Linked DNA regions of Homo sapiens: region 1 is linked to region 2. The links are contacts of gene promoters, found by promoter capture Hi-C in human tissues and cell types (Jung and others, 2019). All regions are on one chromosome and are shown on one strand. The core of a region is centred on a gene start or on the middle of the fragment in contact, and the rest is flanking DNA. Distances in the headings are between cores, read along the strand shown. Region 1 overlaps LINC00987 (long intergenic non-protein coding RNA 987). Region 2 holds the start of A2M (alpha-2-macroglobulin).

Region 1 (2,700 bases), core at 67-2,566, 140 kb before region 2:
CTGAAGGAAAAGACTGTTGCATTGTTTATATTGCCCTTACACACACAAGAATTATAACCAAACATGTCTAGAAGTTCTCTTTCTTCTCTCTTGACTCCTTTCTCAATAATATTTTTCAATTTAGAAATAGAGACAAGCATTAAATGTCTTTTTCCTACTTAAACAGAGGAAATGAACAATTAAACCTATATCTTTAAGGGAAAATGTCATTAGCTCAGCATATATTTATTGAACACTACTACCTGCACAGTGGTATAAAGTCTTTTCTTACTTCAGTGTGATCCAAATGTAAATAAAGTCTATAGTTGGAAATGCCTTTTTAAAAAATCAAATTGATAATTCTGTTGCTAATGTGTTATTCTGAACTTGTTCTTCTTTTTAAATTCTCCAGTGAAAGGGGTGTTTTCCTTCTCCTTTCGAGTGGAATCAGACTCTGCTCCTAGTGCTCATCTGCTTGTTTACACTGTTTTACCTAATGGAGAAATTGTTGCAGACACTGACAAGCTTGAGATTGAAAACTGTTTTGCCAACAAGGTGGGTTGTTTTGTTTAAGACTAGTCCTTTTATTCTTCTCCCATTGTGATGTGTGGAAAAGAAGGAAATTAGGAAATTAGGCATACAGTGCTCCTAAAACATTCCTCCCAGCTACTTCTAAAGGCAGGGGGTGATGTCATACTGAGAGGTCTAGTGCTGACATCCAAAACAGGCAACCACAAACACAGTTTTTTAAAAGTCTCTTGTTTTGTTATAAAATTCATATGAATTTCAAAATCAAGTCACCTATAAGCCTTTAATAGTTTTAATTTTAAAATGTTTTGTTACTAATATTTTGATTAAAAATGATGCCTCACAAGGCTGTGCCAATTTTACCCCATCATACACTGGCACACTTCCATGTACCACTACAGACAGCAGTAGGTTGTCATGAGTTTAAACTCAGCTTAATAATACAGAACAGATGAGAAACAGCCTGGACACTTTAAAAATAATGATAGCACAAAAATTTAACATAGGTTCAGATGGCATATTTTTTATTTAAGGAATACAAAGCTGCCATGTGAAGCTCACTGAGATATAAGTATGCTTTATTCCAACAGAACTTGGTGCTGTTTATCTGATTTTCACTACTCTAGCAGCATAATCATAACATTAGCGATCAGATAAGAGCCGCCTACTTCAGATGCCTGTTTTCAAATACACCTGGAAGGATTTTTTTTTTAACATGGGCTTTGTGGAGATTAAAACAAAATGTGTTTATAGCAAGTGAACATTTCTGCCCTGAGATCTATATTTAGGTTGTCTTGTTTTAAATATACAGTGAAATAAGAAAAATACACAGTGTATTCTGATGTAAACCTTTAATTCCACCTTACTAAAGAGTGCTATTAAACCTGGATGGTGTGTCCAAGAAGCTTAGTGTCTGTTCTGTTTGGACTTCTGTGTGTTTCATACCCACTGAGAAGAGACTCCTTCATGCTTCAATACCTTTACTGTTAATGATGGGTAGTTAGTTTGTTGTTAAATCTTGGGAATGGCCAAGTTATGCTCCGGCTTTCAGCACATCTTATTCGTTCTAGCAGTGGGGTCTCTTTCTGGTGGGTCAGTATCCTCTTCACACCCTAGAAATGAGAGAAGCATTATAAAACAGAATTGGCAGAAAAGTAATTTTCTCCCTGGAATCCAGTCTGAAAAACAATTCTGATTTTGCAAAACATATGACAGTCCCTGTGCAACAGTATAAAACTTCACCATAGAAGTAAAAGCCCACGGACATTATATTCAATCACTTCACGTTAAATACCTTTAAAATCATCATTGATCAGAATTGAAGATCAGCTGTAAAAAATAATATGAACAAAGATTCATAAGAAGATTCAGAAGAAAGTTGACTACCACAAAAATTAGAAAAACAGTAGATCTATTAAAATTACAAATTAAGCACCCTAAAAGTTAGACATCTTGGTGGGATGATGAGCAAATAAATAGTGCACTGAGGATGTGAGGAAAGACCCCAAGTCAGACATGCATCCCTGCAAAACGATACATTTAAATTTTTTTCAATCTTTGCTGAGACAGAGAAAAATAGTTTTCTATTCAAACTTCATATACTTATTTCTTCACTTACAACAGATTTGGCATACACATTAAAAATTATGTAATAGTTGGAATCATTTGTTATACTCAACCAGATATAATTATTCATTAAGAATAACATTGGTAGTAATTAATATAATATATGAGGTACAGACTCCTTTGAAATATGCCTTAAAGTTATGTTTTGGTTTTCATATCAGTAAAACATTTTCTATTTTCTAACATGTCCACTTCTTGCTAATAGTGTTTTTAGTTTATTATAATCCCAAATTACCTGTTCTTTTGACATGGACAGTAACTAACATATTTTAATGAACTTAAATTTTCTAAAAATAAAAGCAAATATATTTTAAAGAGATTCTCCATAAGCAATGTTTTCATAGTATATTGAGTTAGAAAGATGAATACTATTGCATCTTGAAGATAAATAATTATTGATTTTTTTCATATATGTCTTATGATAAGTGATTCCAAACTGCTATATTAAATTCAGTAGACCATAAAGCTGGATTGTCATAGTGAAATTTAGCAACCTAAGTCAGATGTTATTTAGCTAAACATACTGATATTTCATTCCAATAAAAATCAGTTTTCAGTCCAAGAATC
Region 2 (2,700 bases), core at 173-2,672:
CATCCTGGATCACCTCTTTCTAGCTGCCCTTTCAAATTTCAATAAGAGCAAGCTTTCCAGGAAACAAACCTGAAGTCAATCCACTGAGTACTCCTCTGAATACCTTAATATTGTTGACAAATTCCTTTCTGATTTGAAGTATCAGAAAGGAATATTTCCTCCATACCAAATAGTTTTCATTTCATGCATGTGCCGTGATTCTTCTCCCTCCTTTGCATCTGTCATTCGTTATGCTTAGAAAGCTCTTTTCATCTCTTTGTTCTTCGAGACAACCACTACTCATACTTCAGAGCTTAATTTACATTTTGCTTTCCCTCAAAATTTTTTTAAAAGGTTCCAGGTCTGGGTTATGTGCTCTCTTATGTGCTCCCAGAGCATCCTGAACTTCTGCAATAATATGTTTGGCTACTGTATTTTATACAGTAGTTTTATATTGTATTTTATACTGTATTTTATACAGTAGGTGTTATATTGTATTTTATACAGTAGTTGTTTTTCTGTCTGTTTTTGCCCCAACAAGAATGTAAAATCTTTAAGTGCCTGTTTTCATACTTATTTGACCACCCTATCTCTAGAATCTTGCATGATGTCTAGCCCTAGTAGGATCAAAAAATACTTACAAAGCAACTGAATAGCTACATGAATAGATGGATGAATAAATGCATGGGTGGATGGATGGATTAATGAAATCATTTATATGACTTAAAGTTTGCAGAGGAGTATCATATTTGGAAGGCAGTAAGGAAGTCTGTGTAGTCGATGGTAAAGGCAATTGGGAAGTTTGTTAGGCACAATAGGTCAAAATTTGTTTTTGAAGTCCTGTTACTTCACGTTTCTTTGTTTCACTTTCTTAAAACAGGAAACTCTTTTCTATGATCATTCTTCCAGGGCCTGGCTCTTCATCTGCAACCCAGTAATATCCCTAATGTCAAAAAGCTACTGGTTTAATTCGTGCCATTTTCAAAGAGGACTACTGAATTCTGATGTGGCTTCAAACATTTAGGTTAGGCATATCTAATGGAGAACTTGCAGCCACACTGACTTGTAGTGAAATATCTATTTTGAGCCTGCCCAGTGTTGCTTAAATTGTAGTTTTCCTTGCCAGCTATTCATACAAGAGATGTGAGAAGCACCATAAAAGGCGTTGTGAGGAGTTGTGGGGGAGTGAGGGAGAGAAGAGGTTGAAAAGCTTATTAGCTGCTGTACGGTAAAAGTGAGCTCTTACGGGAATGGGAATGTAGTTTTAGCCCTCCAGGGATTCTATTTAGCCCGCCAGGAATTAACCTTGACTATAAATAGGCCATCAATGACCTTTCCAGAGAATGTTCAGAGACCTCAACTTTGTTTAGAGATCTTGTGTGGGTGGAACTTCCTGTTTGCACACAGAGCAGCATAAAGCCCAGTTGCTTTGGGAAGTGTTTGGGACCAGATGGATTGTAGGGAGTAGGGTACAATACAGTCTGTTCTCCTCCAGCTCCTTCTTTCTGCAACATGGGGAAGAACAAACTCCTTCATCCAAGTCTGGTTCTTCTCCTCTTGGTCCTCCTGCCCACAGACGCCTCAGTCTCTGGAAAACCGTGAGTTCCACACAGAGAGCGTGAAGCATGAACCTAGAGTCCTTCATTTATTGCAGATTTTTCTTTATATCATTCCTTTTTCTTTCCTATGATACTGTCATCTTCTTATCTCTAAGATTCCTTCCAGATTTTACAAATCTAGTTTACTCATTACTTGCTTACTTTTAATCATTCTTCCCCAACTCTCTGAAGCTCTAATATGCAAAGCCTTCCTAAGGGGTGTCAGAAATTTTTAGCTTTTTAAAAGAATAAATTTTAGATATTCACATTCATATTGATCTACTTGAGACCATGCTATTTATCTTTTCTTATTTCCTCTTTCTCAAGGGTCCATTTTCTATTTTATAAAAATAAAGACAATTCTCTCCCACAACCAAACATGGAACAATGCCCTGGAGTATAAAAATCTATAGAGTGCCAAATAAAGGAACAATTTGAAATACTGGTGTTGATATTGAAAAAGCAAGGGACTCTAATGTCAGAAGAGAAATCCTTTTGCAGATGAGGTGGTGATGAATTCTTTGTTTCAACACAACTGAAGGAGGAACTGAAGGAAATACCAGCTGATGAGTGATGAGAAGGGATTCTTGATAATAGAGTACTAGGTGATTTTTGGCATGTAATGCAGAAGTTGCAAGAAGTGGTAACAATGATGCAATTGTTTTACCTGCCATTTATTTACTTTTATGTGAGCCATTCTTCTTAGCACTTATAGCTACACAAAACAAAAATAGTAACAGAATTAATGTTGTTTAATTCTTGCAATCCATGGATGCATAAATTCACTGGGGGAAAAAACAGCTCATCATTCTCATTAAAGATGTGCTTCAAAAGTATTTTAATTTTATATCTAATATGTATGAATCATACTTTGTATTTATTTTGTTTTGATCAGTTATATACAAGTATTTTTGAACATAGCTCAGTCAGAAGGAAATGTTTAATATTTATAAATTTATGGTTACATTCTATTTAAAAGAGGAGTTAAAGTTAAATTTACCTACCCACATATGTTACATATATATGTATTTATGTATATGTATTCATATATGTATATATGTGAACATAAGTATACATACGTATATGTATAGATGCTTGACAATAAAGAAGTAAGAATAATTCA

Evidence for each region. The method cuts DNA at HindIII sites, captures the fragments that hold promoters and counts their contacts. A contact is called where the count stands out against the background at its distance.
Region 1: a contact is called between a fragment that was not itself captured here and the fragment with the promoter of A2M in region 2, in 1 of the 25 tissues and cell types used here (hippocampus).

The regions. Positions count from the first base shown.
Region 1 is chr12:9,254,478-9,257,177 of GRCh38, reverse strand. LINC00987 (long intergenic non-protein coding RNA 987) reads right to left here. Exons shown (of 7, transcript NR_137434.2): 5 at 1,486-1,619. It also overlaps the pseudogene A2MP1. Among named protein-coding and RNA genes, the nearest start is that of LINC00987, 16 kb to the right of the region's middle. The HindIII fragment of the contact is 4,482 bases long and covers 1-2,700 here.
Region 2 is chr12:9,114,641-9,117,340 of GRCh38, reverse strand. A2M (alpha-2-macroglobulin) reads left to right here and starts at 1,422. Exons shown (of 36, transcript NM_000014.6): 1 at 1,422-1,577. The coding sequence starts at 1,492. It also overlaps a transcript of KLRG1 not described here. The HindIII fragment of the contact is 8,783 bases long and covers 622-2,700 here.